Linked DNA regions of Homo sapiens: all the other regions are linked to region 1. The links are contacts of gene promoters, found by promoter capture Hi-C in blood cells and fetal thymus (Javierre and others, 2016). All regions are on one chromosome and are shown on one strand. The core of a region is centred on a gene start or on the middle of the fragment in contact, and the rest is flanking DNA. Distances in the headings are between cores, read along the strand shown.

The links. The method cuts DNA at HindIII sites, captures the fragments that hold promoters and counts their contacts. A CHiCAGO score of 5 or more calls a contact.
Region 2: a fragment that was not itself captured here is called in contact with the fragment with the promoter of NRDE2 in region 1 in 2 of 17 cell types (total B cells and monocytes); the score reaches 6.0 in total B cells.
Region 3: a contact is called between a fragment that was not itself captured here and the fragment with the promoter of NRDE2 in region 1, in 14 of 17 cell types (total CD8 T cells, total B cells, naive B cells and 11 more). The highest score is 9.7, in total CD8 T cells.
Region 4: a fragment that was not itself captured here is called in contact with the fragment with the promoter of NRDE2 in region 1 in 7 of 17 cell types (total CD8 T cells, endothelial precursors, naive CD8 T cells and 4 more); the score reaches 7.0 in total CD8 T cells.
Region 5: a fragment that was not itself captured here is called in contact with the fragment with the promoter of NRDE2 in region 1 in 1 of 17 cell types (endothelial precursors); the score reaches 6.0 in endothelial precursors.
Region 6: a fragment that was not itself captured here is called in contact with the fragment with the promoter of NRDE2 in region 1 in 6 of 17 cell types (naive CD4 T cells, non-activated CD4 T cells, erythroblasts and 3 more); the score reaches 6.6 in naive CD4 T cells.
Region 7: a contact is called between a fragment that was not itself captured here and the fragment with the promoter of NRDE2 in region 1, in 1 of 17 cell types (naive CD4 T cells). The highest score is 5.6, in naive CD4 T cells.

The regions. Positions count from the first base shown.
Region 1 is chr14:90,330,238-90,333,552 of GRCh38, forward strand. It overlaps NRDE2 (NRDE-2, necessary for RNA interference, domain containing), which reads right to left and starts at 1,704. Exons shown (of 14, transcript NM_017970.4): 1 at 1,604-1,704. The coding sequence starts at 1,667. RefSeq lists an enhancer at 1,458-1,637 and a silencer at 1,788-1,937. The HindIII fragment of the contact is 5,093 bases long and covers 1-3,315 here.
Region 2 is chr14:90,825,190-90,828,504 of GRCh38, forward strand. LINC02321 (long intergenic non-protein coding RNA 2321) reads right to left here and starts at 2,985. Exons shown (of 4, transcript NR_184259.1): 1 at 2,800-2,985. RefSeq lists a silencer at 3,016-3,275. The HindIII fragment of the contact is 3,534 bases long and covers 42-3,315 here.
Region 3 is chr14:90,762,941-90,766,255 of GRCh38, forward strand. The region is part of intron 3 of TTC7B (tetratricopeptide repeat domain 7B); the gene reads right to left. Among named protein-coding and RNA genes, the nearest start is that of TTC7B, 52 kb to the right of the region's middle. The HindIII fragment of the contact is 2,213 bases long and covers 497-2,709 here.
Region 4 is chr14:90,741,221-90,744,535 of GRCh38, forward strand. The region is part of intron 4 of TTC7B (tetratricopeptide repeat domain 7B); the gene reads right to left. Among named protein-coding and RNA genes, the nearest start is that of TTC7B-AS2, 46 kb to the left of the region's middle. The HindIII fragment of the contact is 1,692 bases long and covers 826-2,517 here.
Region 5 is chr14:90,720,824-90,724,138 of GRCh38, forward strand. All of the region lies in intron 5 of TTC7B (tetratricopeptide repeat domain 7B), which reads right to left. Among named protein-coding and RNA genes, the nearest start is that of TTC7B-AS2, 25 kb to the left of the region's middle. RefSeq lists an enhancer at 485-1,684. The HindIII fragment of the contact is 2,697 bases long and covers 435-3,131 here.
Region 6 is chr14:90,701,021-90,704,335 of GRCh38, forward strand. The region is part of intron 5 of TTC7B (tetratricopeptide repeat domain 7B); the gene reads right to left. Among named protein-coding and RNA genes, the nearest start is that of TTC7B-AS2, 5.3 kb to the left of the region's middle. The HindIII fragment of the contact is 892 bases long and covers 1,122-2,013 here.
Region 7 is chr14:90,681,123-90,684,437 of GRCh38, forward strand. All of the region lies in intron 7 of TTC7B (tetratricopeptide repeat domain 7B), which reads right to left. Among named protein-coding and RNA genes, the nearest start is that of TTC7B-AS2, 15 kb to the right of the region's middle. RefSeq lists an enhancer at 1,152-1,652. The HindIII fragment of the contact is 4,032 bases long and covers 1-3,315 here.

The sequences.
Region 1 (3,315 bases), core at 454-2,953:
AAGAAGTAATTAATCCTGCAGTTCACCTATGGTATCTGTAATATCCCACCTTGTACTATACACTTCTTTTAGGTGCACTCATGCATTCCTGCAACACGTAATTATTAAGTAACTACTATCGATCTGTACATCCAGAAAATATTTATTGAACACCTATTATACTTTGGACCTGTGCTAGGGGCTAACTATGCTACAATGAATAGACAAACACTGCCCAACCTGATAGAGATTACAGTCTAGTAAGGGAAGACAACAATTTTACACAAGAAATTACTCACAATTATGAGAAATAGGACAAGCGCAGTGGCTCATGCCTGTAATCCTAGAACTTTGGGAGGCTCAGATAGAGAATCGCTTGAGCTCAGGAGTTCGAGACCAGCCTGGTCAACACAGTGAGACCTCGTCTCTACTAAATATTAAAAAAAATTAGCCAGGCCTGGTGGTGCACACCAGTAGTTCCAGCTATTCATGAGGCTGAGGCAGGAAGTTAAGCCCAGGAGTCTGAGGCGGCAGTGAGTTATGACAGTGCCACTGTACTCCAGCCTGGGCAACAGAGTGAGACCCTGTCTCAAAAAAAAAAAAAAAAATTAGGAGAAACGTTACAGAAAGTGTAGGAACTATATTAGAGGATATAACAGACAGGTAAGACTCAATTGCGCCCTGTCACATATGGCACATAATTTAGAATTACTTTTTTTTCTTTTTTTTTTAGAGACAAGGTCCCCCCACCCCAGGGCAGGATGCAGCGGCACGATCATGGCTCACTGCGGCCTCAAACTTCTGGGCTCAAGCAATCCTCCTACCTCAGCCTCCTGAGGAGCTGATACTATAGGTGTGCACCACCACGCCTGGCTTTTTTTTTAAGAGACAGGAGTCTCGCTATGTTGATCATGATGGTCATGAACTCCCGGGCTCAAACTATCCTTCCACCTACAGGTGTGGGCCACTGCTCCTGGCCAGGATTAATTACTTCTTAAATGAACTATGTACCCCAATTTTGAACAATGCAGCTCTGCTGGAAATGTCTGGGACTTAAGTAAAATGTGTAAAGCCATAACCTGATACACACTAGGCCCTCAAGAATAAATGTTAGTTATTTTCACTGGGTGCTGTGCCCCTCCAGAGAGAAACTGATTAGGTTTTGGATACTAATCCCCTAGCTCTAGGCCGCTAAGTAATACCAATCTAATAAGCATTTCAGAAATAAGTATAACAGGAAAGGAAGTAATATGTAATAAAAACATTCTGCATTTGCATCAAGGGTTTCCTCGAGATGTCGAGTATCATTATTCCCAATTTAAAGATGAAGTAACTGAGGCTCGAAAAGAAGAACAGGACCTAACAACATCGTACAGAAGTCCCAGCTCCAGGGCATCTGCTGGTCTTTCTCCACCCCTCCATAACTCTACAACCTTGGTCCAGAACAGGCCTCTGGGCCCCAGACCTCGGAGGGATTGAGCCTTTCCCAGAAGGCTTTGCAGCGCCGCGGAGAACTCTGGGATACAAATGGATACACAAATCCAAAGCAAAAGTCTAGACCTGGGCCCGAGAAACAGCCTCTTAAGCCCCCCAGGTGCCTTCTTCGGCTCGTTTGTGTGCTTACCTTTCCTGGAGCTCCCGCCATCGGGAGCCTCACTAAGCCCCGCAAAGGCTGGGAACAGCGCCATGACCACAGGCCGTACCTCCGTTCTTCTCTATAGGGATGGCGCCGGCGAGCGAGCGCCGGTCTGAGGACCCCTGCCGTCGCGGTGCACTCTGGGAAATGTGGTTTTCGCGGCGCTCTCTGGGGCTTGACCCCGAAGCGGGAGGGGCGGGGCCCAGAGAGGAGGGTCGTCAAGGGACTGGGGCGCGGCGGGGCAGGGAGAGGCAGGGCAAAGCAGGGTGGGGCGGGGCCAAGGGGGGCGGAGCGAGGAGTGACGGGTTCCTAGTGGTTGGGACCCTGTGAGAACCGGAACTGCGAAAACCGGAGAAGGGAATTGTTGACCGCGAAAGGGACTAAGGAAATTGGGATTCCAGTTCGACCCCTAAATTCACACCATCCTTGCTAACTGGGTCAACTTAAACGCTCTAAGCATTACTTTCCTTATCTGCAAAATATTGAGAAGATTAAATGAACATATTTATAAAGGGCCTAGCATTGAGTCCGGCCCATGAAAAGCACTTAATATGTGTTAGCTATTATGTGAATTACGACTGCAAGTTCGGCTCAAAGTCATGTGAGATATCCGAACTTCAATCAGGTTACCATATTAAATACCCCAGAACAAGGAAAAATGGAAAGTCCCATCAAGTTCAAGGGTCTTTGATAGTTAGGAAATACCTGTCTGTGAAGCATTCTTGACCCCGGTTCCTCCCACCCAAAATCTAATCACACTTGCTACCAGAAATATAGAGAGTAAAGGAACAACTTAGAAGACTTTGTACTACCAAGAAACAATTAGCCAAATCTAGAATATGGGAAATTATAGAAAACAACCGTGCTTCCTTAACATATCAAGGGCTTTAAGAGGGCAGGAGATTGTAATAGATACGAAGATCTTACAGACACATCAAGCAAATACAACATATTTGTGGCCTCATTATAATTCTGATTGGACAAACTGTAAAAAGACCTTTTTAAGATAGATGGAGAAATAAGAAGGTAGGCAGAGTACAAGCAATTCACAAGTAATTCTTGTGAATTCTGTTAGATGTACTAAAGTACTTATGTCACTGAGGTGACCCTTATTTATTTATTTTGAGACAAGGTCTCCTTCTGCCACCCAGGCTGGAGTGTAGTGGTACGATCTCTGCTCACTGCAGCTTCGAACTCCTCGATTCAAGCAATCCCCTCACCTCAGCCTCCCAAGTGGCTGGAACCACAGGCATACACCACCATGTCTGGCTTAATTTTTTTTTTTTTAATAGAGACAGGGTTTCACCATGTTGCCCAGGCTGGTCTCGAACTCCTGGGCTCAAGCGATCTGCCCCCCTCTGCCTCCCAAAGTGCTGGGTGCCTGTGCCTGAGCACCCCCCAACCCAGCCTGAGATTACTTTTTAAAGTTCTTATATATTAGAGATATATACTGAAATATTTGCAAGTGAAAATAGATAGGTAAATGAAGATATATTTATTGGGATCCTAGGGAGTTAAAGATCTTTAGTTAGGAAATACATTATAAACCAGAGATGCAAATGTAATCATCTAATCAAGGAATGGATGGACTCTGATGAAGTCTGCAGACCTGCATAAGAATTAGGTTCTATGAGTCCAAAATAGACACCCTTAATGCTTTGAAGTCCCTGGCAGAGTACTTACAAAAAGGAGCTTAGTAT
Region 2 (3,315 bases), core at 559-3,058, 500 kb after region 1:
TGGGGGTCTTGCTTTGTGGCCTAGGCTGGTTTGAGCTCCTAAGCTTGAGTGATCCACCCACCTTGGCCTCCCAAAGTGCTGGCAGTACAGGCATGAGCTGTGATGCCCTGCCTGTAATAGGAATCTTCAGGAGTGTTTTCCTCACACTCAGAGTTCTGGGGACACTTCCGTGTTACCCTGTACCCCACCTGTCCTATCTTCTCCAAAAAAGGCATAGACTGGGTTTGTGATAAAATACCCACCTATATCTGTAAATGAACATCAAAGTAAAGATGGGAAACTATTCAGATACGGGGGAGAAAGGTGTATCTGCCAACAGGGAGGAGACTGACTGTTCCTCAGCATAAGGCTAGACTGATTTCTGAGCTTCCTAGCAGACCAGGCACAGAAGAAAACACGTGGAATGGTTTTATTTATTTAATTTTTTTTTTTTTTTAGATGGAGTCTCACTCTGTCACCCAGGTTGGAGTGCAGTGGCTTGATCTCAGCTCACTGCAACCTCCGCCTCCTGGGTTCCAGCAATTCTCCCTGCCTCAGCCTCCCAAGTAGCTGGGATTACAGGAATCTGCCACCATGCCCAGCTAATGTTTGCATTTTTTAGTAGAGACAGGGTTTCACCATGTTGGCTAGGCTGGTCTTGAACTCCTGACCTCAGGTGATCTGCCCACCTCGGCCTCCCGAAGTGCTGGGATTACAGGTGTGAGCCACTGCGCCTGGCAGAATGGTTTGATTTAAATGATGTTGTTGATTCACATATCAGGAGTTTGTTTGTTTGTTTGTTTTTTGAGATTAAAGTCTTGCTCTGTCACCCAGGCTGGAATGCAGTGGCACAATCTTGGCTCACTGCAACTTCTGCCTCTGGGGTTCAAGTGATCCTCCTCCCTTACCTTCCCAAGTAGCTGAGATTACTGGCATATGCCACCACGCCTGCCTAATTTTTGTATTTTTAGTAGAGACGGGATTTCACCATGTTGGCCAGTCTGGTCTCGAACTCCCGACCTCAAGTGGTCTGTCCACCTCAGCCTCCCAAAGTGCTGGGATTACAGGTGTGAGCCACCACGCCCAGCTGACATCAGGAGTTTTAAAGAGAAATCACGAACTAGGTGGGCACAAGGGACCTGGTTGTTCCTGGGGAGTTGTATCAGCAAACAGGTTTGAAGTTTGCACTTCGGACACGTTACTGTGAAAAAAAGAAACTAATTCTCATTTTGTGTGAAGGAGCCTGATAGACACAGGATCTGCTTCAGTGAGGAATTGTGAGTGATCTTCCCCTGCACAAGGCCAATAGGGTGCAAGGTTTCCACAGTTCAATTCAACAAACGTTTATTGAGTACCTACTATGTGCCGGACACAGTGTTAGGCCTTAGTGATACAATATTGTGTAGGGTATGGTCCCATCCCTCAAGGAACTCACAGTCTAGTGGGGGAAAGAAGTGAGCAACAGCTCTGCAGCCGGACCCAGAGGAACGCCAGGAATTAACTGTGGTGGGTGCTCCAGTAAGTCTTCCTGGAGAATGTTGCCCCCAAGCCAAGCCTTGAAAAAGGATCTCAGGTCCAGTCTGCTCACCAACCCTCACCATCTAACAAAGTGGTCCTGGGTTTTCAAAACTCTTGCACTCAAAATAGGGTCCCAGTATTCAGACATATGCAGTCCCAGATCACCCCCGACCATCAGATGAGAAAAACCCAACAATCTGGTCTCCTTTCCTGCAGCAAAGCACTTGGTGGTCAGAAGGGTTGGGGGTGAAGGTTTATGGGATCTGCTGGACAGCTGGTGAGGCATACAGACACTTCTGGTTATTATCTTTCTCCCAAATCAAATGCTAAAGGTACTAAAACCATGCTGACTGCATGAACCATTCCCTGGGGACTGGTAGGGCATTCCATTCCTCCCCACATTTGGGAGTCCAAACTGGGGTGGAGGGGTAAGAAGTAAAAGGTCTGGGTCAAGTGCTGCCCATCAGCTTGTTCATGATCAGGTACCCTTCAGTTTCCTTATTTGTAAGAGGAGAGTGCTAGTCAAGGAGGTCCTGGGCTCTGGTCGTTGATTCTGTCCTGTCAAAGTGAGAGTGGCTGGAATGGGATTGGTATATGGGTGCTCCCATACAGCTGAGGTTCCTTTCTGAGCTCTCAGGAAGCAAATTAAAAAAAAAATAATAATAATTACCAGGTGAGATGGCTCACAGCTGTAGTCCCAAGCACTTTGGGAGGCCGAGGCGGGTGGATCACCTGAGGTCAGGAGTTCGAGACCAGCCTGGCCAACATGATGAAACCCGTCTCTATTAAAAATACAAAAATTAGCCGGGTGTGGTGGTGGGCACTTGTAATCCCAGCTACTCGGGAGGCTGAGGCAGAAGAATCGCTTAAACCCGGGAAGCAGAGATTGCAGTGAACCAAGATCACTCCACTGCACTCCACCCTGGGTGACAGAGTGAGACTCCATCTCAAAAAAATAAAAAATGAAAAATAAAAATAAAACGAATAATAATAATAAGGCATCTGAAAAAACTCTTGAAGTTAGGAAACCTGGATTTGATTTTCATCTCTGTAACTGACCTGCCGTGTGACCTTGTGAAAGGCGTGTCCCCTCTCTGGGGGTGTCAGTGGACTAATTCCCGAGTTAGCTGTGGGGGGAGATGATCACTGGCATTTAACAGTAAGGTGGGGCTTCAGAAGTCCATCTACTGCGAAGCAAGAGAAAACTCCACGGAATACACGACTGAAACGAGTGGGAAGCCAGATGTGTCACGGACGTAGGGAGGGGAAGATGAAGGTCCCAGCAAAATCCCGGGAACATACCTGTCAAAGGGTCAGCGAGAAAACCAGTCCCTTGGCTGGTTGAAAGGAACACTTGATTCTTTGTCAGAAAGCAGCCTTGCGCTTCTAAGGGGTCTGCTGTCTGAAAGAAGCCTTCGAGGCTCGCAGACCTGGGGAAGAACTCAACCTGCCTTCAGCCCATGGGGACTGGGGCCGGCGCGGCTTTCTGGAATCGAACGGAACGAGGCGACCAGGCGCGGCGGCGGCAGCCAATGAGGGAGCCTCCTGATGAGGTCATGCAGTTCCTGGGCGCTTCATTGGCGGATCCTTCGCGGGGCCGCGGCGGGGGCCGCAGGGCGGAGCGAGGCGGGGCGAGGCGGGGCGGAGGCGGTGCCTGCCAGAGCCCGGACCTAAAACCGCGGTTCGATTTTCCTTATTTCCTCCCAGCGCTTATTTCCCCTGAGCGCGATGGGTCAGGCCCTTCTTAAGAGAGCAGTGAAAATACCCAGAAAAAAGGGCTTTTACTCACTCCAGAGACTGGGTTTACTTATTTTGGGT
Region 3 (3,315 bases), core at 353-2,852, 430 kb after region 1:
GATGGCTTCCTTGGTGAACTGTACCAAATACTTAAAGAACTACCACCAATTCTTCACAAACTCCTCCAAAAAGCAGAAAAGGAGGGAACACTTCACAACTCATCCTATGACACCAGCGTAACATTGACACTAAAACCAAAGGCATCACAAGAATACCACCAATATCTATTATGAATATAGGTATTAAAATCCCCTACAAAATATTAGCATATGGAACCTAGCAATGCATTAAAAAATCATATACCATGACCAAATGGGATTTAATTCAGGAATGCAAGGTTGGTTTAATATATGAAAATCATTCAACGTAAAATGCAATATTTAAAAAATAAAGCACAAAAATTACACGAACAATGCAATAAAAAAATTAGACAGTGTCTAAACCCTATAATGATAAAAACACTCAACAAACTAGAAATAGAAAAGAGCTTCTTCAAGTTGATAAAGGCTATCTATGAAAACGCCACTGCTAACATCTTAGTGGTGAAAAACTGAAAGCTTTCCCCCTAAAATAAGGATGTCCACTCTGGTCATTTCTAATCAACATTGTACTGGAGATACTATCCAGCACAATTAGGCAATACAAAGCAACAAAGTCATCCAGATTGGAAAGGAAAATGTAAAATTATCTTTATTTGCAAATGCCATGATCTTACATATTTTAAAGCCCTAAAGAATCCACAAAAACAATATAATAGCTAATAAATGAGCTCAGCAGGGTTAAAGGATACAAGATTAATAAACAAAAATGAGCTGTATTTCTATACCTTAGTAATGAGCAATCTGAAATTTAAAAAATAGTTTCACTTATAATAACATAAAAAAGAACTCTTAGAATAAATTTAACAAAAGGAATGTAAGACTTGAATGCCAAAAAAATCTACAAAACATTTTTGAAAGAAATTAAAGAAGATATCCCATGTTCATGGATTGGAAGACCTGATATTGTTAAGAAAGCAATACTTCCCAAATCAATCTACAGATTCAACACAATCCCTACCAAGAATTATTTCTTACACTAATTTACAACCTGACCCTAAAATTTATATGAAATGTAAGCCAAAAAAATCTTGTAAAAGAAGAACAAAGTTAGAAAACACACTCCCCAAACTCAAAACTTACTACAAAGCTACAGTAATAAAGACAGTGTGGTACTGGCATAAGCACAGACATACAGACCAGTGGTACAGACAGAGAGTCCAGAAATAAACACTTACATATATGCTCAACTAATTTTCAACAAGGATGCCAAGACAATTCAATGGAGAAAGAACAGTATTTTCAAAAAATTGGGCTGAAACAACTGAAGATCCACATACAAAAAGAATGAAGTTGGATGCTGACCTCACAAAAATATACAAAAATTAACTCAAAATGGATCAGACACCTAAATTTAAGAGTAAAAACTATAAAACTCATAGAAGAAATCACAAGAGTAAATCTTCATAAACTTGACTAGGCAATGGTTTCTTAGATACAAAACCAAAACAACAAAAATAATAAAAGAAAAAAAAATGAACTGGACTTAATCAAAATGAAAAATGTTTGCATTTCAAAGGACATCACTTAGAAAGTGAAAGACAACCCACAAAATTGTAGAAAATATTTACAAACCATATATCTGTAAAAGAAATTATATTTAGGATATATAAAGAACTACTACAACTCAATAATGGAAAGACAAATAACCCAATTAAAAATGGGCAAAGAATCTGAATAGATATTTCTCCAAAGAAGATATACAAATGGCCAATAAGCACATGAAAAATTGCTTAATACCACTTATCATTAGGGAAATGCAAATAAAAACCACAATGAGATACCATTTCATACACTCTAGGATGGCTATAATCAAAAAGACAGATAACAACAAGTGTTGATGAGGATGTGAAGAAATTAGAACCTTCATGCAGGTGAGCTGCTTTGGAAAACAGCTTGCAGTTCCTCAAAAACTTACACTCAGAGTTACCATGTAATCCAATAATCCCACCCCTAAGTATACATCCAAGATAAATGAAAACCCAAAATGTTTTGGATGGGATTATGTTCACCAAAAAACCTGTACACAAATGTTCATAGCAGCATTATTAATAATAGTCAAATAATAGAAATAACCTGCTGTCCACCAACTGATGAATGGATTAACAAAATATGCAAAATGGTATATCCATACAATGTAATATTCAGTCACAAAAAGAAATGACACATGCAGCAACATATAAGGACCTTTAAAACTTTATGCTAAATGAAAAGAAGCCAGATACAAAAAGTCAAGTGCATGATTTCATTTATACAAAATTTCTAGACTAGGCAAATCTATAGAGACAGGGTATAGATTAGTGGTTGACTAGGGCTATAGAGTTGGGGTGGGGGTTCAGGAAATGGGAAGTGACTGCTAATGGGTAAAGGTTTCTTTTTTGGAGTAATAAAAATTTTCTGAAATTGATTGTGGTGATGGTTGCACAACTCTGAATATACTAAAACCCACTGAATTGTACACTTTAAAGGGTTGAATTGTATGGTATATGAGTTATATATCAATAAATCTGTTATTTAAAAAGCTATAAACAGAATTCCGGGAAGATGGTGGACTATGAAGCACCAGGAATCTATCTTCCCACATAGACAACTATTGTACTGGCACAATCTGTTCAATATAACTATTTTGGAACTCCAGGGTCTCTTGAAGGCTTACAATTTCCAGGGGAAAGCTTGATGGTAAATTGCAGTTAATTTCAGCTTTTAGCATAGTAGAAGCTGTGAACACATTCCTAGAGAAGCAAATATAAAGCTTGCAGGAGCTAGGGTGGGCAAAGAGCACCCTGTCCTCCAAATATTGGGTATCTGTGTTCTGATCACTGACTGCTGCTTCTGATCACAGGGGTGCAGAAAAGAGGCAGTAGCCATTGTTGCTGCACCTCCCTTCATTATTGCAAGCCACCCCACATACACCAACAGAAGTGACATCCAGAGGATTTAAAGGGCCAGTGCCCTTTCCCCCAGCCTCATTTTTCTCTTTCTCCCTTTTGAGGGCCAGACATTCAAGACTAGAGCATTCAAAGGCAACTACATACATGGGGAAAATTAGATGGTTGACCATGCATGCCCATGGAAAGGCACAGACTCAGAGAAGACCTAAGAAGACCTCAAATATATACCCCAGGCTGATCCTTGGCACAAAGACAGCCTACAACGTTTTTTTTTTTTTTTAATAAACAAAAACAGCAAACCCTGAGAATGGGGAGAATCCTATTTCCAGAGTTACCACATTATTAGATTCAAATGTCTATTTTTCAACAACATCAAAAAAAAATC
Region 4 (3,315 bases), core at 422-2,921, 410 kb after region 1:
ACAACTCAGAACATCCCAGAACATCACTGAACATCCCCACTACTAGAGAAACTCAGAGAACGGCACTCCCTCAGAAGCACAATTATGAAAAGTCACTGGTCACGACACTCCTAACTGTCTCCAAAAACCCTCCCCAAATTTTACTCTTGCTAGTGAATAAAGTTAAACGCCAGGACTAATAAATAAAAGGCCCACAGGCCCCAGCGAGCAGAAGTTTCTTCACTACAGAATGGCGGGGAAGTGACAGGGCACCATGGAGAGGCCACCTCTGCCCAGCGGAGCAAACAGGAACAGCGTGTGTGATTTCCTACCTGGCAGGGCTGATCCCAAAATAAAGCCCTATTTGCCTTGGATTGCTCAAGGCTTTGATCAGATTCCATCCCCTTTTCTGTTTTCAATTCAACATAATTCTTACTGAGTTCAAAATTAAGTCAATTAAGTTCAACATTTAAAAAAAGAAAAAGGCCAATCAAGTATCTCTTGCATAACACACAACTATCTTGCCACATAAAAACCTGCAAACTTTCCACCAAGCCCATTGGTCACCTAAGGAAGGTTATTCTCCTCGCTAGCCTTCTGCTTAATCAACAGTTAGTTTCTTGAGTACTTACTACAGTCAAAACAGATGTTGGGTTCATTCAATCTCTCTCATTGCTAATATCTCAGCTTGCTGAAATCTGGGGAGGTCCAAACTGGTTTTCCAAAAAAGAAAACGCCAGAGCCAGAAATTTGAAAATCAGAGCCAGAAATTTGAAAATCGTGTACCTACGCTGAGATTTAACCTTAGGCTAAAGAAGCTGCTTCCCAAATGCTACCAAAAGCTAAAGCTTACTTGGTCAAATAAAACATATTTATTGACTTTTTTTTTTAAGTGCAGTGGTACAATCATAGCTCACTGCAACCTCGAACTTCTGGGCTCAAGCAATCCTCCCACCTAAGCCTCCCAAGTAGCTGGGACTACAGGCACTTGCCACCATGCCTAGCTAGTTTCGTTTCATTTCGTTTCGTTCGCTTCTTTCTTTCTTCCTTTCTTTCTTTTTTTTCTTTTGTTTCTCTCTCTCTCCTTCCCTCCCTTCCTCCCTCCCTCCTTTCTCTTTCTCTTTCTCTCTCTCTCTCTTTCTCTCTTCCTTTCTTTCTTCATTTGTAGAGACAAGGTCTCACTCTGTTGACCAGGCTGATCTTAAACTTCTGGCCTCAGGTGATCCTCCTGTCTCGGCCTCTCAAAGTGCTGGGATTACAGGCATGAGCCATCACACCCAGCCTTATTGAGCACTTTCTCTAAGTAAGAGTGTGGAGAAATGTCATGCTTTTTCTTTGTTTGCAGCAGCCTGGGAGAATAAAGTGAGCCAGCACTAAGCTAGGTGTCGTGTGAGTGGAGTTCTAAAACTAGTTTTGGCCTAACTTTCTGTGTGCCTGGGCTCTCCCTTTCTAGACCTCAAGTTTCTTCTCAAAATCCAACATCTTATGATCACCATTTCCCCAAAATCAAAGAAAAGGATTTCTTTTAAATCCTACGACTATACAAGCCTCCTTGATGTTCCTGCTGAAGAACCCAGCACTGAATGGGGTGTTGTGAGTGAACATAACAGAAGTGTATTCAGATCTACCAATTCCTACATCACTACAGACACATGTAACACATGAGCCTCCTTTCTCCCAGCCGGGAGAAGACGGCTCCAAAGTGACAGGGCTGGACAACAGTGGAGAGTAAGCAGCAAGATAGGGCCCTAAGTGGCCAGGGCTGTGTAGTCAGCTGGAACAACTCAGATGGGATAAGCAGACTTCTCGACTGCCAAGCACGGTCCATCAAGGAGGCAGACAGTGGAAATAATGGAGGTTTTTAAAGGAGCCTGGATGATCATTCCTTTAAAGATCATATCGTAAATTCTGAATAACAACAACAAATTCTCTTCTCATAGCAACCTTCTGATAGAACATAATTCTGGCAAGACAGACATGTATCTTCCTGAATTCCCAGATATCTTAAACCATGGCTTATAATCCATTCTGGTTGAGGCCAGGTCAAATGTTATTCCCATCACTCTCTCCACCTCTCCTGCTGTGATTCTCACTCTAATCTCCCTGCCTCCTAAAAAGGCAATTCTGATGCATATCATATGCACCAACACATGACAATATGATTTATGAAAAAAAGTTACTTCCTGTCTGTTCATTTATAAAGTAACAAAAGCTAGGGAGACTTTGGCAGTCTCTCTCTATTCTAATCTTTACAAAAACAAGGAGCCCAGAAAATTGCTGGAAAACAAGACCTCCAATCATTTTCAAAGTCTCATAGGATTTCTAATCATTTCAAACACTCTTGTAGGGTACATCTCTGGGTCTGAAGGGGTCAATAGCAGTGTCCTTGGTGAGAACTCCAGGAAACACTGCCAGCAACAGCAACTGCTAGGAGCTATTGTTATTAATAAAAATAAGTGACATTTACCAAGAATCCAATATGTTCACGAATCTGGGCTAAGTGCCTTTATTCACAAGACCTTATGTAATCCTCACAAAAGCTTCATGAAGTAGGAACTATGATTATGTTCTTTTTATGGACGGAAAAAATCGAGGCTGAGAGGTGAAGAAACTTAGTAAAGAGTAGAACCCAAAGATGAGAATCTGAAACAGGCATGTTGCCTCCACCTCCCTGGCCCCATCCAGCCTCCAGCCTCCAACCTCCTCTGTCTGAGGCTGCGAGCTTAGAACCCCGAGCTCACTCGTTCTCTGCTCAGAGGCCCTCTTGTCAGCTGCTCGTTTCCATCACCCACACCACAGGCGAAGCACTGAAGGCTGAGACCATCCCTGATGGTCTCCGGGGATACCCGATGTACTCAGCTCGGTCTACTTCGGTCCACGTCCCCAGCACCTTTGCCATATCTGTCAAGGTAAGGCCTCCCAAGCCCCAGATGAACAGGTCTTGGCACAGAGTCCATACAAGTACAAATGAAGCTCAACCCATTTTATTAGGAAGACAGGGGTGGCTGGCCAGCTTCAGGGTGCTGAAGGTATGAACAGATGCACACTGTCATTTCTGCTCAGAGGATGCTAAAATGCTTCACAAACACTGAACCATCTATTTTTCTTTCTTTCTTTCTTTCTTTTTTTTATGAGATGGAGTTTTGCTCAATGGCCCAGGCTAGAGTGAAGTGGTGCAATCTTGGCTCACTGCAACCTCCATCTCCTGGGTTCAAGCAATTCTGCCTCAACCTCCCAAGTAGCTGATTATAGATGCCCGCCACCATGCCCAGCTAATTTTTGTATTTTAAGTAGAGATGGGGTTTCACCATGTTGGCCAGGCTGGTCTCAAACTCC
Region 5 (3,315 bases), core at 533-3,032, 390 kb after region 1:
ATTTACTTGTTTTTTCTTCTCCTGCTGGACTAGAAATTCCACAGGGACCATTTGCTGTCTCGACCCTAGTTCCTGACACGTAAATATTTGACAGATGAATAAATATGTGAATGGATAAACAAACAAGCACGGAATCTATTCCTCCACTCCTGCTCCCATTAAAACTGAAAACCACTACCCAAGACAAATGCTAACCAGTTCATCTGTCAAGGAATTCCAGTTTCTTGGTGGTGATTAAAGGAACTGTAGCCTGCCTTCCAAGAGGCAGCATATCACCGGTAAACCATGCAGGGAGGGGCCTTTGGGAGATACAATTAAATGCCAATCACTAACCTCCTCCCCGACTTTGGAAGCTTAGAATGACCCACCCCATTTTTCTGCTGAAACCAAGGAGAGATCAACACAAACGCACCCATCTTGCTGAATGCTGAGGAAGCTTTCTGACGGCATCAGATCTCTAACCCTCACTAAGTGCTAGCACTTGTGAAGTACACTGAAAGTAATTACCTGTCTCCACAATTCATCACTGAAAAGAGGGGTTTCGGAATTTCATAATTAAAATCGTTAGAGATTCTTTTGTTTCCACACTAAGGTTTTGATGGCATTAAGGGATGAGCAAGACCTAGCCCACATTTAAACAGAACAGATAAGATCGGGCTGATGCTTTTTATTCATACATAATTACGTCTAGACTTGCTTTATCTTTATTTTTTTAATTACGTGAGACCAATTAGAAGACGATAGACTAGCTTTTTAAGGTCCTTAATTTTCAAGTGTAATATATTGCTATGCTGCTCCTGACTCCATTTTCAAGAAGGTACTGACAGGGCATGGTCAGTATGGCCCAACTGATGAGAGGACTGAACTGGAAGACAGGAGCAAGAGGACAGGTCCCAGCTCTGCCCTAGTCAGTTGTGTGACCCTGAAGAAAATCATATTACCTTGCTAATCAACTGTTTCCCCAATGATACATAAACTCCATAAAGCCAGCGACTGGGTCTGACTCATTCACTTAGAACAGTATTTGGCACTAGTAAGTAACCTAGTAAGGGTCTCCATCAATGTTTGTTGAATAATTAGTGAACAGGATTTCTCTGAATCTCATGTATCAAGAGAAGTGATGGAAACAAATGCTCTCTAACAGCTGTTGGAGCTTCCGGATTTTCCGAATAGAAACTGCACCATCAGTTCAACTATTACGAAGATCTCCCTTCAAAGTGAAATGACTCATATGAAGAGCGTGGAACAGCGATCTAGGTGAGTCAAGTCTTCCAGACATGTGAGTGCCCAGGCGACATGTGGCATCCCCAAGTTGGCCTTAGCTGGCCAGGCTGCAGGAAGGCGCCCTATATCTCACGCTACTCCATCAACTTCCATTCTGAAGCTGTTAAAGCAGCTCTCACACAGACTCCCTCCTGGCTCTGTCCCTCCCGGCTCTATCCCTCCCTCCATCATCCCCACCTTCCTAGTATGGTTCCTGCTGAGGTTAAAATGTAGCCTGTGGCCAAAAACCAAGTAAAATGAACCTGATCCTACTAAAATGGGGGACGTGGCTCTGGTGGCACTAGATTCCTGGTGGCCAAATGAACTACCCTGTTCTTGACCCTTCCCAAAACCCCACCTTCCAGATCCAATGGCTTCTCCACACCTAGAGAATGAATTCCCTATTCCTTAGCCTGCTGTTTAATCTTCCACCATCATTCTGCCATCGGTCCTTCCAGCATGAACTCCACCTTAGAAAAGAAAATGGAAGGGGAAGAACATTTCTAGGAAGTGGCCTGTATACAGAGCTGCAATTCATCCTGTATCATCTGCTCCTCAACTTCCCCTGTCCAGCTTCTGCTCTTACCACTCCACCAAGTTTGTTCAGGGTCACAGATGTCTTCCATGGTATCTGATCCAGGGGTCACAATTTGGTCTTCTTTATTAACATCTAAGCAGCATTCAGCACAGGTGACCACTTCCTCTTTCCTAGCACAGGTTCCCGTTTTGGCTTTCACAAGGACACACCCTCACGATTTCCCTTCCACCTCTGGCAGTTCCTTCACAGGATCCTCCTCCTTTACTCAACTTCCAACTCTTGCAGGTCTTCAGGCCAAGTCCTGGGCTGTCTTCTCTCTTTACTCTCTGCCCCTTCACTGATCTCATTCAATCCTGTGGCCTTAAATATAATCAATATGCTGAAATTCCCCATTTATAACTCAAGTCAAACCCGTCTTCTGGTCATGTTGACACTTCCACTTAGACATCTCACAGGCATCTTAAACCTAACATGCCAAAGGCAAATTCTTGATTTCTCCTTTTCCAGATCTGATCCTCTCCTTGTCTCCACGCATCTAACCAATGGTTCAAGGCTGAAACTGGGGAGTCATCTCTGGTTCCTCCATTTCCCTTACCCTCTGTCCCCCAAATCCAATCCACCAGCAGTCCTAACTCTAGTAGTTCTAACAGACATCTCAAATGCATCCACTTCTCTTGGTCTCTATACCCTTTGTTATCTCTAAGATACACATCTAATGTCTTCACCACCTAGTATCACCTACCCTTTGTCCTGGTGACTCAGGGACTTTTCTTTGGACAACCATCACTCTCCCACTATATGCTGCACAGTGGACCTTCCTTCTTCTGGGTAAGCCAGACTGAGACAGTTTGTGACCCTCCTCCTTCCAATGCTTCTACTACATTGGACTCCTTTCTGATTCTTGAACACTCCAAGCTCTTTCCCGGGTCAAGACCTCTGCACATTTTGCACCCACTCCTTGGAGCTCTCTTTCCCCTGTGCTTGACCTGGTTAGTTCCTTCTCACCCTGCAAGTCTTGGTCTCATCTCAATGTCACCTCCTCCGGAGACCTGGCCAGGCCACCCTATCTAAGCAGGGGCCTTCTGTTATTTGCTTTCACTGCACCCATTCACTTCCTAGCACCTATTCCAATTTGTAATTATATATGACCAGTACTTACATATTATCTGTCTCCCTCACTAGACTGTCTCCTCCCTGAGAGCCTGGACTATGTCTCTTATATTGGCCAACATATACTAGTACTGAGCACAGTACTTGGTACTTAGCAGAACTCAACAAATACTCGTTGAATAACTGACCAAACCCACTGCATGCCAGGTCCCATGCTGAAAGCTTTATAGGAACATCCCCAGATGTCTACAGAAACCATCACTCCAGCCAGACTGGTCTCATATCCTGTAGAATACACACAATACCGAGTACAGTTCTAACTCCACACTCTACCAACCACTGGAACGTCCCTCTGGTGCTTCCCCATCTGTAGGCATCTACACCATCTCAAGCCCACTTTTCCA
Region 6 (3,315 bases), core at 318-2,817, 370 kb after region 1:
CACGCATTTGTGAAGACAGATGGCTTGCTGCAGTCAGGGGCCAGGGATCAAACCCACAACCTTGGCCTCGTTAGCGAAGGGCTCTCTCTTACCCATGGAGCAAGCCAGCTGCAGCCTGGATATAGTGACGGAGGGTGTGACAGCCATCCACGCCGAGATGAGAACAAGCAGGCGAGGCTTCCGGATGTCTCACCTCAAACCTTATGAGAGCTGTACTGGGCTTAACAACATTTTTTGGACTACCTCAGCAATTGAGGCTTCCTCGTGACAAAAGCAGAGTCAATTATACATTTGGTCAGCCGGCCAGGCAGCACACAGTACAGGGAGTAGGGACTACGGCCCAGGCAGTGTAAGTGGCACCAGACACATAAAGTCAAAGAAGTCACAGAGAGTGGCTTCTTGGAGTTCATACTTCAGGGGCCAGGACAGGAACACATAAACAAGTCCTTCCAACAGGCGTGCACAAGGCCTAAGAATGAAAAGTGGCCAGACTGCTCTGACAGCCCAGCCAGAAGAGCAACTCGCCTGCCCTTCACCTGTCCCCTCCACTCCCCTAAGCTCCGAGTCTCTGAGAAACAGGAAGTGTAGAAAGCCTTGCCCCATCTCACATCCTTCCTTTCAACCTCTGGGAATGAGTCAAAGAATATCAGTACTCATTCCAAAAGAAACGTATATATATATATATATATACACACACACAAATATATATTTCTCTCTCCATATATATCTGTGTGTGTGTGTATATATGTGTATATATGTATATGTGTGTGTGTGTGTATATATATATATATATATATATATGGAAAGAGAGAGAGAGAACACTCATACCTACTATGCACTAAGAAGTGAGGCACAGTGAACGCAATGGTAAGCCAGTCAGCAGACGTGAGTCCTCATGAACTTGTATTTTAATGATGTTCAGTTTAACCCTAATGGTATCCAAACACACTTGGACTCCTCAACCTAATAATACTTAAAACAAACCAATCCGAACTTATCTATCATATAAGGATTGTCCTTCACCCGGGAATCCATATGTTTATCTATATACCCGAATGTAAAGAGACAAAATAGAGTCATGGTTACAGACCCTGGAGCCGGACAGCATGAGTTCAAGTCCAAGCTTTGCCATTTATTAATTGTTGACCTTGGGCAAGTGCCTGTGCCACAGTTTCCTTATAAAATGGAAATAACAACTGTACCCACCTCATTTAACCATACCCACCTCACTGCTGTAAGAATTAAACTAGTCAGTAACAACTGTATTGCCCTCATTGGGTAACTGTACCCACCTCACTGTTGTAAGAATTAAACTAGTCAGTAACAACTGTACCCACCTCATTGAGTAACTGTACCCACCTCACTGTCGTAAGAATTAAACTAGTCAGTAACAACTGTATCCACCTCATTGATTTGTTGTAAGAATTAAACTAGTCAGTAAATGTAGGAAGTGCTTTTTAAGTATTTGCCATTATTACTTCTGTTAGCCTCAAAACTCTATCATTGTTTTAAAAAAAAAAAACTTTTGGAATTCTGGAATCTGTTTTCCAGTCAATTTATAGCATATGAAAATCTGCTTTACTTCTTTGAAGTCATTTAATTTTGAAGGAAAAAAGATATTCCCCAGTTTGATTCATTGATCCTCTTTGCTATTTACTGAAAGTCTACCATGTCCCAGGAACTCCCTATGTAATTCCCAGGTCTGGCTCACAATGACAAAAGACAACCCATGTCAGGTAAGAACAGTAAAAAACTTTCTCTGGGGCCTTGTGGTCACCCTCCTGGGAAATGATGTGACATCTCCTAAGAGTGCTGGTGCCCCTGACGGGGGCAGGGGAACAGTCTCCAGCCACGGCTTTGGGGTGGGGCACGGACAGATGACCGCGTGTCTGGCAGGTGTGAATCCTGACTGCTCCATCACACTTAGCACAGTGAGCGTGTGGAGACTGTTCTGAGTTCATCAAGAAGGGCCAGATCACACTAAAAAATTTGAACTCAAAAGTGAACCACTAAAGCTTTATGAGCCCATAACACAAAGCTGGAGAGGAAAGCTCGCCACTTCCACTGGGGAAGTGTCTGCTCCAGACCTGGCCAGAGCTGGAAGACAAGCATGAGGGCGGGGTCCCCGTCAGCCTGCTTCATAAGACGGGGCTCAATTAGCTGCACAGAACACTGATGGGCACAGGCCAACAATATTCGTTTTTAATAGTCCAGAAAAGTGCAGAAAAAAGACAATCTGGAAGGTAAAAATGTCCTGCTAACAAAATGACTTCATTCATCAATTCTGAGTGGCAAAGTCACATAGGAAAAGAACTTCTGGCCACCCTGTCCATCCCCTCGACTGGGCTATGGAGAGGAAAAAAAGGCAGAAAGGATGTCAAGGGGAGGAAAGTCCCTCCAAACGCACCACAAGCACTTGAGCTGGAAGTTCGAGTGTGAGGATAAGAGTGCAACGTTCACTTCCATTCAATTGACAGGAGAACTGCATTTCCAACACAACTCTGGCGACCACATTTCAAAGCTAGAACAGTGAGAAAAAAATCCAAGGGGATCATTTGAAAGAAAGGGAAAAAAAAAGACCATTACATGTGCAGGGGTCAGCAGTCCAAATGGCTGCAGAAGCCAAGCAGGTAGCAGAGGTGGGTGAAGACAGACTGTGGGACGACAGGCGTCGCAAGCCTACAGGCCTCCAGTTCAAAACCATAACATAGAAACTCAACAGGGAAGGGAGGCTCTTTGCCATTAAATTGGTAAATAAAAGCCTCTGATATTTTTCTTGGGGAAACAAAGCAGTGCTGCTCAGTTTGAGGCAGCACAGTGCCGATGGGATTGTCACACATTCTCAGGAGTGGGACCAGATAACCCGCTTGGGCCTGGGAAAGGCAAATCTGCTGGGGAGAGAAGACAAAAAGGGCAAAGGTTGAGGAGGCTCATGAGAAGAAGGACTGGAAGTGAGCATGGAATGTGAGCCATCTGGGAACATGGCAAGGGGAACAAGTACCAGATGCCAGGCATGCACTGAGATGGGGAAGGACTGGCCAACGGGCTTCACCTTGTCTCTTCCTCATCTGCAAAATAGGACTAACACCTACTTGCCATATGCAATGAGATGGCACCTGGAAAGCTTCTGACTCCATGCTCAAAAACACGTGAATCCTCCGCCTTTCCCCAACCAGCTGCTACGTCCCACCATCCGGCCCTTCATTCCACATACAAACATTTACTGGCTAAAAGCCAAAAGCAGCCACTGGTGTGATTGTGAACCTTTGGTTTAATAGAAAACAGTGCAGAATCTGAACCGGTTTCTACGATGTA
Region 7 (3,315 bases), core at 494-2,993, 350 kb after region 1:
TTAAAAGAAAGAGCTTTTTAAGCTCAATGTTGCTCAGGATTAGAGAATAATAAAAAGTCAGCAGAACCCCAATCTGTATTCTCTATAGCCTATTTTCTGTGTTGTGAGCAATTGCAGCATTTTTTCTCCTGTTCTAAAGCTCTAGAATCCTTTGAGCAGAATTGTGAATGTTATCACCAATTGGGTCAAACTCAATATTTTTTCATGAAATGGACGAAGAGAGTGCAATAAATAAAAATGAACTTGGTTTAAAAAAAACTCCTAGATATCTTGAAGATGACTAAAAACAACTAAGTTTATGTCTTCCCAGGGATAATATTACAATCATGTAATTGAAGGGATTTCCCCACACCCCCAATAAAAGGCAAAAAAAAAAAAGGATTTCCACATAATTACAAACATTTGTTTTCTTTGAAGTGCTGGCAATTTTTGTACTGCATCTTAGGATGATAAAGAGCAAGACAGGAGGAATGCAGCGCCTGGTATTCTCGTTACAATGCTGATACCGCTGGAGGTAAGGAAGCCACCTGCAGGATGGTTTCTATCATTCTTCTGAGGCTAAAATTTTATGAAAAGGCTGGCCTGAGAATGAGGAGCAAGATTCGGGGATGTGCAGTGACTTGCTTCAGAAGTCAGCTTGAGATGATCTGGGTTTTTCAGATGGGACACTTCTTTCCCCTTAGATTCTGGAATAGAGCCTAAAGGCTCTGAATTAAGTGTCTCCCAAACAACCACCTCAGTATGTTGTTGTTGTTGTTGTGTGTGTGTGTATGTGTGTGTGCATGTACATGCACACTCGTGCCCCACAATCATTTCCTGATATCCTGGCTTGTGGTTACATGCAATTGGGACCTTGCAAATAAAGCAGTAACATGAACCATTGTGTGTATGTGTGCACGCACACACCCATATGTGCACACCCATGCCCAGCAATCATTTCCTGATATCCTGGCTTGTGGTTACATGCAACTAGGATCTTGCAAATAAAGCAGTAACATGAATCATTTTTTTTTTCATGGCTAGCCGGTTCTGCATTATCCAGACCAATTGAAAAGACAGACAGCCTATGCTAATTGTGACTTAACAGCAGTCAATTCAGTCCATGGCTAATCTCCAAATTCTGTTTGAGCCATCCAGCCTGCTTAAATGCTAGTTTGTGTTATTTTTACCATAGTTGCTAACAAGTGGCACATTAACCGAATCCAGCTCCACTTCCTCTACCCTCCCTATTTGTGGCAGGCAAGGTGGGTACTCAGGAGCACTGCAAAGCTCCCAAGGCCAGCAGGAGCCGGGGGAGAAAAGGTAGTTTTAAGAGACATACCTAAACAACTACACATTAGAAGGCTCCCTCTCAATCATTATGAATTCTCTAGACCCATTTCCGGCCAATTCCTTCCCTCTTGTTTGCTCAGGGAAGCATGGATGGAGCTCAGGGTGAACGGGTCAAAACTGTTGGGGCCTTCCTTTTGTGGCCTTCTCCTCTTTGGGGCCCACGAGCCTCAGGGGGAGATACTGGGGTACCCAGGCCTCAGCCTTGAAGAGTGGGAAAACTGGGGCCCTAGATCCAGAGGAAGTTGCGTGAAGGGGAAGGTGGGGGACGAAAGGGGACAAGAAGAAAACAGGGCTCAGCAGGCATGAGGACAAGCTCCCAAGAGCTGGCAGGCTGGCAAAGGAGGCGGCAGTGGGGCAGCTGCTGCGCTGAGAATGGGAGGGTGCGTCCTCGTCCCAGCCATGCCACCAACTCACTGGGTGACCTTTAGGCAAACTGCCCATTTTCTTACTTTGGATGAATTTACCAACTCATTTTCTGATTCTACAGAAGACATAGGGAACAAGGGTGAGAATTCTCAGGTATAAGTAGTAATCATCATCTTGCCAGGGCTCCCACATAATAGCTTTTTCTTAAAAATTTCCTCCGAAAGGTAGAAACTTTACCTTAATGGTAGACACAATCATACAAAAGAAATTAATCCAACTTTACCCAACTGCATTTCATCTCTTCTGTCATCGTTAGCCATTATATAACTAATGACAAGTTGAGGTCTAAAGGTCACCGGCATCCCCTAAAATTCTCTATTTAGGTGCAGGGAGGGCCTTGAACACTGCCAACCCACGAGAAAGTTGATTTGTAAATAATGACAACATCAACTCTAAGGTCTAGTAATGGTTCCTTTATAATTTTAATATGTCTGGCTGAGATACTACCAGGAAATTCCTGGAGAAACACAGCCTCTGAACCACAGCCAGCCAGGTAAGAGCTGAGGCATGGAGGCCAAGAATGGCTGAAGTCCCACCCCGACCCCAAGTCACACTGTCTGCAAACATGCCAAGGCAGAATCTACTGTCGATCCCAGGTTTATGTGGATAAATGGGTATCAAAAAAGGAATAGGACTTAAATTGAAAATTAAGAGTGCATCTTGATTATTAGGGATCAGCTAGTCTGATGTAAGGACTATCGAGGCCTCACCACGCTTCCATTTTGTGTCAATTCATATAGGTCAAAAATCTCCCCATGACAAAGAAAGAAGGGTCCCTCACGCAGCCCAGTGCAGGTCCACTGGGCTACACTCTGCTGAGTGGGTCAGGTGAATCCCACATAGAACATCACCTTGCACAAGTGTTTCCATGTTCCTGCTGAGAGGACGGGCCTCTCCACAACTCCAAGGTGGGCTGTGTACACCAGAGGCAAGGAGATGACAGGCAGCCAACGGTGTAGCTGGTCGTTTACACAGCTTTGGTTCGGCCATCAAGAAGTCATCCTGACCCTTCAACATCCCTCTGCTTTCCATTTTATTTTATTTATTTATTTTTGCAAGCTCTTGAGGATTTATTGTGTCCACGGAAGGGCCTGGCCAGTGCCTGGCTCGGGATGTTCTGCCCTCCCCGGCCAAGACCCCTCCATTTTCCATTTTAAACAGCATTCCCATCCTTACCAAAAACTGGAAACCAGGAGGTTCAGATCTACACTCAATATTCCATGATAATTACCTTTTCCGCCGAGACCTACAAAGGAGTTTAGACAGTGCCTGGCACTCACTAGCATTCAATGAATCTTTTCATCATCTGCTTCTTGGAAGTATTATCCAATATTAACCAGTATCCACAATAGCTGTTTTTAATCTTCTGCTTTACTTTGTGTTAACTATCTAGTCTAATGTGCATTTAATTGTCGAAGCTACCTCAACTGCTTCTTACAAGAAGAAATACAATGAAAAAAAGTATGCCTGACTGACTGAAACACACACACATATATATATACACATTAAGAAACATGTAGATGCAGGGGGAAAAAAGAAACACGTACAAGACTCTTC